3 separate regions of the Homo sapiens genome follow, and all the other regions are linked to region 3. The links are contacts of gene promoters, found by promoter capture Hi-C in blood cells and fetal thymus (Javierre and others, 2016). All regions are on one chromosome and are shown on one strand. Each heading gives the region's core, a stretch centred on a gene start or on the middle of the fragment in contact. The rest is flanking DNA. Distances are from core to core; before and after follow the strand shown. Region 1 has its middle 42 kb from the start of ANKRD62. Region 2 overlaps GNAL (G protein subunit alpha L). Region 3 holds the start of MPPE1 (metallophosphoesterase 1).

Region 1 (3,605 bases), core at 42-2,541, 140 kb before region 3:
TAACATATTTTCTTACCAGACTTTATGCTCCATGAATACAAGAAGGTTTTTAGTAATCTTAGTATTTCCAGAAATTATAATCGTTTCAGGTATGTTGTGCAGACTTGATAATTTTTTGCCTCTAAATGAATTCACAGAAGTAGCACTAAACACATAAACAGATGTTCATGTATATTAAATGTTCTGTGGTTTTAAAGACTATTAAAAAAAATAAAGCAAGATTAGACTGAGTGGGCTTCTTGAAGGAATAGTCATGGGAAACTTTACTGAGATCAACAGAAGAGCAGAAATTTGACTGAAATGACTGTGAGACATGAGGATTCTGCCTCTTTTTAGCAGGGGTAACAGCAGCTGCTAGCCATGGGCAGGAATGTGCTTGGTGGTTTTGAGGAATAACAAAAAAAGTCGCAGTGGCTGAAGGGAGAAGGCAGGAGGTGATGTCAGGAGGCAGTAGACTCCAAAGGTGAGCCTATCGTAAGCTTTATTCAGTAAATTCATTTTATTCTTAATTTAGTGGTAGATTTTCAACAAATGAGCAACGTCTGGTTTATGTTTGTATGGGAGTTTTCTCTATATTTCTGTATATTTTCTCTATAGAGAAAATACTAGGCAGGGCATAACATATAGAGCTCATTAAGGAGCTGTGGTCGTTTCCCTCCTGAGTGATTGTGGTGGCTTGGACAAAACCGAAAGGCCTAAAGGGAATGAGACGAGATTTGATTCTCTCAATATTTAGAAAGTGGGGTGATAACCATATAACGAATATTTGTAACATCAGAGTACCAGAAGGAAAGGAGAGAGGTATTTAAAGTATTTTAAAAAATAATGGCTGAAAATGTCCCAAATTTAGCAAAAGTTATGAAACTACACATTCAAGAATCTGAGATAACATCAAATAAGATAATTTTAAATAAATCCATGGTGAAGGCAAATCATAATTAAATTTTTGAAAACTAAAGACAAAATCTTCAGAGTAACCAGAGATAAATAACACATTCCCTACATAAAAGAATGGCAGATTTCTCATCTGAATCCATGGTGGCCAGAAGGAAGTGTAGGACATTTTCTCAGATACTGAAAGAAAAGAACCATAACAAAATTCTCTATCTTTTGAAACTATATTCATGAACAAAGGGAAATAAAAAGCTTACCAGACAGGAAAACTAAGAGAAAATGTTGCTAGCAAACCTACCTTTAAAAAGATGACTAGAGGAGGTTCTCTAAATAGAAAGTATATAACGCAGGAAGGCTGGGAACACAGGAAAGAAAGAACATTGGAGGTTGGCAGAAATAGGGGGAAATGTAATAGAATCTGTTTCTCATGAGTTTCTGACATCATATTTGATGTTTGGAGAAAAATGCTCTGTATGTAGAGGAAATACTTAATTCTATTTAAAAGGGGGGAGGGTAAAGGGATCTAAGTAGAATGAAGCTTTCTACATTTCACTTGAAGTGGTAAAATGCTGACTAATAGACTGTGATAAGTTACATATGCACACTTTAATATCTAGAACTGCTAAGAAAACGATAAAGAGTATTGTGCTTAGAAACACTGCAAATAAACAAGATGGAATCTAAAAAATGTTGATATAACCAACAGGAAAATAAGAAAATGGTAATAGATGAATGAAAAACCGAGAAAACAAAACAAATAAAATAGCAGCCTAACATAGCAATATTTATCTTAAATGTAAATAATCAATGTGTATCAAAATACAAATTGACAGAGTGGAAAGAACAAGAAACATAATTCTAAAATATTTATAGGAAATTCATAACATAGTTAACAACATGAGTTGATAAAGAATAGAAAAAGATATACCATACAAACATTATTCAAATCAAAGTAAGAGTGGCCCCATTGATATCACATAAAGTCGACTCTAGAGCAAAGAAAACTCGTGGGCAAAAAGATCACTATATAACGATAAAAGTATCAATCCAACAAAAATGCAGTTATCCTAAATATGTCCCCACCAAACAAAAGAACCTCAAAGTACACAAAATAAAACTGACTGAGCTGAAAGGAGAAATAGGCACATTTTAAATTCTAGTTGTAAGTCTGACCACCTCACTCTCAGCAGTTGGTAGAATCACTAGGCGTTAAATTACTAGCAGACATAGAACAGGAGAGCACCATCAACCAATAGGGTAGAAGCAACATTTACGGAACAGTGCCCAACAGCAAAATATACACTTTTTCTCAAGTGCTCATGGACTATTCAGGAAGATAAACCATATCCTGGGCCATAAACCAACCTCAGCAGGTATAAAAGAACTGAAATCATTCCGAGTGTGTTTTCTGGCCATAATGAAATGAATCAAACTATGAATTAATTCATAGTAGAAAGACAACAGCAAAATATCCAACCACTTGGAAATGAAACAACAGACTTCTAAATAATATTTGGATCAAAGAAAAAGCCTCAAAATAAATTTTAGAAATTCATGGAATTGAATAAAGCCCTGCTGATAGGGAAATTAACAGCACTAAATGTTAACCTCAGAAAAGAGGAAAGGCCTCAAAACGATAATTAACTTTCTACTTCAAGAAACTAGAAAAACAAGGAGGGACGGGACAAGGTTGTGGCTGATCCCAGAGAGGTAGTGGCAGCCACCGAGGCAGAAAGTGGGACTGGCGCACACCCTGAGCACATCGCAACCCCTGTGCACCCAGCTGTGAACCGGGGGAGCCAGATCAGAGGCCGGTGCCAGCTGGGCCAACTCCAACAAGGACACATCCCTAGCTGTGGGTAGTAAGTCCAGTTATAAATTTTTCTCCCTTCTTCTGTGGATAAGCTGGAACAGATCCCTGAATTGCACTGATACCGAAGATGCGTGCATTATAGAAAATTGTTGTCAAGCACCTTAGTGGCCATTTTGAACCTCAAAGCTCAGAGGAAGCTAAAGGTTTGCCACTTGAAAAAGGGAACTGAGATCTGCAACTACAGCTACTCCAATAAGATAGTGGCTGTGGAGCTCCAAAGGCAAAGGCTAATAGCGTGCCTGGGAGATCCTTTGCACTTCCACAACATTTGGGACTTGAAGGTACTGCCTGGGATCAGGAGATCCTCCAAGCCCTGCAGGCTTGTGAGCACTACCAATAGTTACTTGGCCTAGGCAGGGAGTGCTGTGACTTTTCTATTTTAAATTTATACAATTTATTCAGCAAAGTAATGAGATATTGTGGTTGCAAGTTTCAGTATTTGCCTAGCTTCCCTTTTCATTTTGCAGAATTAGAACAACCTCAAATACTTCAAACTGCATTCCAAACCAACGCATATAGCAGCTAAAGTTCTGAGGGCATTTAAGTGGAGTTATTCTATGAAAGATCATTTTAGATTTTTTGGAGTGGTGAAAGTTTAGGATGGAAATGAAAAGGTAAAAATATTGTATCTGCTCTGCCTTTTCAGGATTTCAGGTTTTTTAACAGAGGAAGGGTGAGAGATGCCTGTTTCCAGGTCATTGTGCCATGGTCACACCTGTTGAATAGCTTCCAAAGGGGGTTGGTCAACTGACCATCTGCAGTGAAATGCCCTGATATTCCTGGGTTGGCTTTACAGCAAGTCTCTAAATGCTGGGAGCACATAGTCAGTTCTCACTGT
Region 2 (3,412 bases), core at 438-2,937, 180 kb after region 3:
ACAGGTGCATGCCACCATGCCTGGCTAATTTTTGTATTTTTAGTAGAGATGGGGTTTCACCATGTTGGCCAGGCTGGTCTCGAACTCCTGACCTCAGGTGATCCACCTGCGTTGGCCTCCCAAAGTGCTGGGATTACAGGCGTGAGCCACTGTGCCCAGCAAGTCTTTAGAAAAACTTAACTTGGCCAGGTATGGTGGCTCACACCTGTGATCCCGGCATTTTGGGAGGCCGAGGCAGGCAGATTACCTGAGATCAGGAGTTCGAGACCAGCGTGGCCAACGTGGGGAAACCCCCATCTCTACTAAAACTACAAAAATTAGCTGGGCGTGGTGCCGGCACCTGTAATCCCAGCTACTCAGGAGGCTGAGGCAGAAGAATCGCTTGAACCTGGGAGGTGGAGGCTGCAGTGAGCTGAGATCGTGCCACTGCACTCCAGCTTGGGTGACAGAGGGATACTCTGCCTCAAAAAAAAAAAAAAAAAGTGGGAGGCTGAGGCAGGAGAATGTTGTGAACCTGGGAGGCAGAGCTTGCAGTGAGCCGAGATAGCGCCACTGCAGTTCGGCCTGGGCGAAAGAGCGAGACTCTGTCTCAAAAAAAAAAGAAAAGAAAAGAAAAGAAAAACTTAACTCTTTCAACCCATTGCCAACTAAATAAAGAATCCCTAAAACCCACCTATGACTTGTAAGCCTCTGCTTCCAGATGTCTCGCCTTTTTGGGCCAAATTAATGTAGAATTTCCATGTGTTGCTTTATGATTTTACCTGCAACTCCAGTCTCCCTAATGTGTAAAATCAAGCTGTAACCCAACTGCCTCGGGGCGACTTAATCAAGGCTTCCTGGGTTTGTGTTTTCTGCCAGCCGCGAGCAGCCACATTGGCTCAGAATAAACCTCTTTATTAATAAAATATTTTACAAGGTTTGGTTTTCCTGTTTACAGCATTTTATGCCAGATTCTGCTGGGTGGTGTGGAGGATACAGAAATGAATCAGAATGGATATGGCTCGCACAGAATATATAATCTGCTAATGCATTTAAGTGAAACTTACAAATATCTACAATAAAAGGTAATGAGTATTATGAAGGAAGTACATAATAAAACGAGTGGAAACTTAAGGAAGAGCACTTCCAACACAGAGGGTCAGAAAATGTTTCAAAGAGGAGGTAACACTTGTAATCGACCGTTAAATCTGGAGAGGATCTGGCTACTTAGGAGTGTGGGAGAGGGATTCCAAGGGCAGAGGAAGCCGGGGAAGCTCTGGAATTGGTGAGCAGAGAGCATCCTCCAGCTGGTTCACTGTGCTTAGGGAAGGCAGAGTGGGCAAAAGAGTGAAAACCCACACAGGTGGGGCAAGAGGAGCGCTAAGACCACTGCTCCATAGGCAGGAAGCATGTTTTCCTTCTAACCGCTCAGGAAAAAAATGTCCCCTTTCTCTTTGATGGAAGATGTTGTACCCAACACATCTATGAACCTATGATCTCACAGTCTTCATATTCTAAATGTTCAGTTCCAGGATTTTAGAAATCTGGGTTAACTATCTCGTTTGCGGCCAAATACCAAATCATCAATAAAAACACCAAAGAGCAAATCAAAAATATGATGCTGGAGATCCCTTCCCCACCCAAATGGCTCTGATGTTTCTTGGAGACTTTATCTACTAACCAGTACTAACTCGTCCATCCCATCCCAGTGTGTTTAAACTCTCAGAGCTTTGAGTGATTTCTCCCAAGAGGAGTCAGCCTTTCATCAGCAGGCTCCCAAGGAAACAATTTGTTTTCAAAATGTATAAATGTCTTTTGCTTGCAATATTGATTTGTATTACACAATATAAAACTCATCGTCTAAGACAGGAATCCAGGAATATTACATTTTCTTACAGAGATGTAGCAAATATCTGTATTTCTGTCTGTATCATCACTGTAAGAAAATAAAAGAACAATGTGAAGGAATCAATGTCTGTGCAAAGACTGAGGGTGAAATGAAGTTCAGAAATAATTGTAGAAACTATTAAGCAGATTTATCTTAAAAAGAAACTTTGAGGTTTGGGACAAGAACAAACACCTGTTAGAAACAATTCTAAGCTCCCGCCTGAGTTGTCCAACTCAGAATTGCAATGAGCCCCCAGAGCCTCTCTCCACTGTGCTGCTGAGACTTGATGAAGGTGGAGCTCCTGGAAGCAAGTGTAAAAATGCAGCCAGAAGAGGGCAGAATCAAGACAGGGGAGAGAGCTTACATGACACTGGCTGTGAGAGCAGGTGGACTTCCAAAAGTAAATAACTTTTGCCTGAAGAATGTGAGTCCTTTTAAATCATCAGGCTCAGAGAGACATTAAAATGAGACAACAATCATGCCTTACTCCCCCCACCCCACCCCCTGCTTGCACTACCATTTTGAGCTATGTATTCATCTTTTGTTGCTGTTGTTAATTAAAGACATAGGGTCTTACTCTGTTACCCAGGCTGGAGTGGAGTGGTGTGATCACAGCGCACTGTGGCCTCAATCTCCTGGGCTCAAGGGATCCTCCTGAGTAGCTGGGACCACAGGCACAGATCACCACACCCAGCTAATTTTTTGATTTTTTATAGAGACAAACTCTGCCTATGTTGCCCAGGCTGGTCTCGAACTCCTGGCCTCAAGTGATCTTCCTGCCTCAGCATCCCAGATTGTTGGGGTTATAGGCACGAGCCATCATGCCAGCCTGTATTCATCTCTTAAAACTGCCTTCTGTTGCCACAAATAGCTATAAATTAACTTAACAATGCCACACTGGACACCATAGCCCACACTCCATAGGTTAAAATGTATAGCCAGTTACTAATCAATGTTACTTCTGTAAACGAATGAAAATTCCTGACAAATAATTTTGTATCAGACTACTCTCTTTCCCCACTTTTTGCCTTTAAAACCCTGATTACCTGAGTCAAAAAAACTCCTCCTCTCTACCTTACACTTGTTTGAGTTAGAATTCTACCATTTACAATGGAAAAGGGTCTGGATTAAAACAAGAGATGTACAATATCCTTATACAATTGGCTCAATAAATGCCTCCACATCCGACATTCTGCCTTTGAGTTTCAGGCTTATCATTTCCGTTTGGGGTCCCGGTTTAGGCAGAAGATGAGGGGAGCAGAAGCTGCAGCCCATCCGTTACTGGAACAGCTAGGACCACAGGTGGGCACCACCATGCCCAGGAAATTTTTTATTTTTTGTAGAGAGGGGTCTCTTGCCCAGGTTGGTCTCAAACTCCAGGGCTCACATTTATTTGAAAAGGTAGCTGGTAGATAAAGAAATAAAAAGACGGCCCAGGGACAGGGTCTGGGGCTGCTACCCCACAAGGCAGGTGGGAAAGTGTGGGGACTCCCAGGCTTGGGATGCCTGACACCCTGCGGCTCCGCCCAGATGGAGAGCAGCAGA
Region 3 (3,807 bases), core at 1,057-3,556:
TATCTCTCACTTTGTTCTCTAAAAAACTCCAGGAATTTGTTATTAAATTTTATTAAAGCAAATCCCAGAAATAATATAATTTGCCTGTAAATATGTTAATATGTTTCTCTGAGGCCTTTAAAAATCATAGCCACTATGGTATTATCGTAATAAAATTACCTGAAGTTATTTAATGTCACCTAACATTCAGTCCATGTTTAAGTTTCCCAATTTTTTTTTTTTTTTTTGAGATGGAGTCTCACTCTGTCGCCCAGGCTGGAGTGCAGTGGCGTGATCTGGGCTCACTGCAAGCTCTGCCTCCCGGGTTCACACCATTCTCCTGCCTCAACCTCCCGAGTAGCTGGGACTACAGGCACCTGCCACTACACCCGGCTAATTTTTTTTTTTTTTTTTTTTTTTTTAGTAGAGACGGGGTTTCACCGTGTTAGCCAGGATGGTCTTGATCTCCTGACCTCCTGATCTGCCCGCCTCGGCCTCCCAAAGTGCTGGCATTACAGGCAAGAACCACCGCGCCTGGCCGCCAATGTTTTTAAAAATGCCATTTATTTATGTAAAAGTTTGTTTGTCTTAATCATGACCCAAACAAGGTCCACAAATTGCATTTGGCTAATGTGTCTCTCAAGGTCCCCCCACCCTCTTTTTTTTAAAGACATGGGGGGTCTAGCTGTGTTGCCCAGCCTGGAGTGCAGTGGCTATTCACAGCTGTGATCATAGCTCACTACAGCCTTGAACTCTGGCCTTAAGCAATCCTCCCACTTCAGCCTCTGAACATTTATTTTTGAAAAAAGAAATTGGGTCATTTGGTTTGTAGAATTTCCCACATTCTGGATTTGGCAGATTACTTCCTGGTGGTGTAATCTAATGGGTTCATTTGGCCCCTGTATTTCCTTTAGCCTGTGATTAGTGTTATAAGCTTAACTGGTTCTAGTTTCCCTTTCTTTGTTAGTCAGAGAGAATACTTTAGAGGTGAGGCTGCAAACAATCCACGGTGCCATATTAGTGTGTTTATGGAATCAGGCTGTCCCAGTTTCGATTATGTCAAAGTTGTTCACCTGATCATATCTGAAGATATTACAATATTCTTAATAATAATAACCATTTACCGCATACTTATTGTATACCAGGCATTTTGCTGGCTGTGTCCTATATAATTCCTCAAACCACATCTCCGTGTATTAACCACACTCATAGATTTGTGAAAATGTACCAGAATTGACTGGTTGGAAGGCTCTATGTGGATTATTACTCTGAGCATGTTTACTTCTTGAAATATGAAATAATGGCTCCTGCTTTTAATATACAGGCTTATTTTGAGGATTTTTTGAACGGATGTGAGAGCACTTAGAAAACTGGAACGCGCCGCGCTACACCATTAAAATTAGTAACATCAGTGAGAAAAAAGCAAGTGCATAATAAATATTATAGTTATCCTGATTGTCTCCTTTATTCATCACACACTTCCTAAGCACATCTCTGGAGGGCACTTTCCAAGGCTCCGGGGGAGGAGAGGAAAGAGGCGCAGCCAGGCCTGGTGGGTCCCGGAGGGGCAGCGCGGCGCGGGAGGGGAACGGGGAGGCACGGCCTGGCTGCCACCGCGCGCGGAACCCGGGAGCGGCTCCGGGGCTGTCAGCTGCCCGCCTGGCTCCTCCAAGGCCTGGAGCTCGGACGCGGGCTCTGGGGGCTTCTGGGGCGCGGAAGCGGGCTCGCGGGGAGCAGTGGCCGCCCCCGGCCGCCGCGGTGGCTGTGCTCAGAAGCCGGCCCTGGCGTCAGGAGGCCGGGCGCGCGGCGCGGGGCGCGAGTTCCCCTGCCCGCCTGTGCGCCCCGCAACGGGCCTTTCCTGGGCCCTAACGACAGCTCGCCCGTGCTTCGCCCTCGCAGCTCTCCTGTGTCCCCAAAATGCCTTTCCCGCGTCCCCCGCCCTTCAGCGGTGACTGCCCAGGGGACTCTGTAACGCGACACTCAGACTGCCGAGCCTGCCAGGCACTTCGCGGAGGGCGCTAGGGGCCGGGACGCGGCCGCCGAGCGTAGGTTCCGGCCTTTACTCCGAGTTGCGCACGGAGCCCCAGCTGCGGTTGTCCGCTCTGGGGATCACAGGCCGCGGAGACCCGGGAGCCACCCGCCGGGCCCCTTCAGACGACCCGCTTCCGCAAACCGGCCGTGGGACTCCGGCGCCGGGCGGACGAAGCGGCTCCGGGAAGACTCGGTCTTCCCCGCCCGCCTGAGGTCGCCGGGGCGGGGCTTCAGTGACAGGCCCGCGCGCTACCGCGGAAACAGGAAGTTGGCTGGGTGCGCGCCGGCTCCGGCTGCAGTTCCCGGGTCCCTCGGCCACCGAAGCCACCCTGCCCTGGTGAAAGGGCTCCCGCACCGCCCGGTGCTCCCCATCTGCCTGGCGTTGTGCGCAGAGCTGGAAAGCATGGCTGTTGTATGTATTCTTGCGCCCGTGTGACAACATTTAAACTTCTAAAAACGGAACCTCCTTCCGTGTTAGGATTGCAAGTTAACCTAGGAAAAACAGCATTCTGCAAATTATTTGCTGGAAAATCTCGGTGACTTAAGGCCCATGTATTACTTTGCAGGGGTCTCTCACTCTAGTTTGCTGGTGTAGATTTTTTAAAAAATCCATCTTATCAAAAAATACCGTTTAAGGTGGAAAATTTCAAATGCAAGTCGCAGTTGATGAGATTGCAATTAATATATTTAAGATAGTGAATTAGAGAAAAACTACAGGTCAGTGCATATTAAGTATTTTTTTCATATTTTGGGGGGATTAGATTTTTAACGATAACTTTGAAGTTAAAAATTAAAAGATAGGCTGGGTGCCGTTGCTTAGGCCTGTAATTCCAGCACTCTGGGACGCTGAAGTGGGAGGATGGCTTGATCCCAGAGATGCGAGACCAGCCTGGGCAACATAGCAAGTCCCCCGCCCCCACCATAACAACAAAAGTACCAAAAAAAAAAAAAAAAAAAGCCAGGTGTAGTGGCACGCACCTGAAGTCCCTGCTACTCGAGAAGTTGTGGGGGAAAGGATCGCTTCAGCGCAGGAGTTTGGGGCTGCAGCGAGCTGTGACGCAGCCTGCGGTTGACAAAAAGTCAAAACTCTATAAAATATTTGAAGGGATTAATTCTGAGCCAAATATGAGTGACCATGGCTGGTGACACAGCCATTTGGAGACCCTGAGAACGCGTACGCAAGGTGGTCGGGGCCCAGTGTGGTTTTATGCATTTTAGGGGAGCCATGAGTCATCAGTCAAATACATGTAAGATTAAGATGTACATTGGTTCGGTCCATAAAGGTATGACAGCTGAGGAGGTGGGTGGGTCGGGGGTTTCCGGGTTATAGGTAGATTGAAAATTTTCTGATTGGCATTTGGTTGAAAGATTTATTATCAATGGAAAGGAATGTTTGGGTTACAATAAGAGGCTGTGGAGACTGAAGTTTTATCATGCAGATGAAGCCTCCAGGTAAGTTAAGTGTCCAGCATGTTAAATGCTGGTCTGCTTTTCCTGAATTCTAAAAGGGAGGAGGATGAAATGTGTCAAGTTCCACCCCCACTTCCCATCATGGCCTAAACAAGTTTTGCTTAAAACAACCTAAAACAAGGTTAACTCTGGAATGCCCTTGGTGGGGTCCATGCAGATGGTTGAGGGGTCTTAGGATTTCATTTTTGATTTACAATGGGCGGTGGAGTGAGACCCTATCTCTAAAAATAAATAAATAAATAAATACAAATTGAAAAGTTCAAAGATAAATTTTTTTTTTTTTTTTTTGAGACGGAGTTTCGCTCTTGTTGCCCAGGCTGGAGTGCA

What was found. Contacts are between HindIII fragments. The CHiCAGO score rates a contact against its expected background, and 5 or more counts as called.
Region 1: a contact is called between a fragment that was not itself captured here and the fragment with the promoter of MPPE1 in region 3, in 2 of 17 cell types (total B cells and naive B cells). The highest score is 6.9, in total B cells.
Region 2: a contact is called between a fragment that was not itself captured here and the fragment with the promoter of MPPE1 in region 3, in 1 of 17 cell types (naive B cells). The highest score is 5.7, in naive B cells.

What each region holds. Positions count from the first base shown.
Region 1 is chr18:12,049,809-12,053,413 of GRCh38, reverse strand. No RefSeq gene overlaps it. Among named protein-coding and RNA genes, the nearest start is that of ANKRD62, 42 kb to the left of the region's middle. RefSeq lists an enhancer at 2,664-2,853. The HindIII fragment of the contact is 286 bases long and covers 1,149-1,434 here.
Region 2 is chr18:11,727,231-11,730,642 of GRCh38, reverse strand. All of the region lies in intron 1 of GNAL (G protein subunit alpha L), which reads right to left. Among named protein-coding and RNA genes, the nearest start is that of GNAL, 40 kb to the right of the region's middle. The HindIII fragment of the contact is 3,948 bases long and covers 1-3,412 here.
Region 3 is chr18:11,906,816-11,910,622 of GRCh38, reverse strand. It overlaps MPPE1 (metallophosphoesterase 1), which reads left to right and starts at 2,306. Exons shown (of 11, transcript NM_023075.6): 1 at 2,306-2,422. LOC101927511 (a long non-coding RNA gene) reads left to right here. Exons shown (of 4, transcript XR_007066296.1): 4 at 1-74. RefSeq lists a silencer at 1,514-1,913. The HindIII fragment of the contact is 5,797 bases long and covers 916-3,807 here.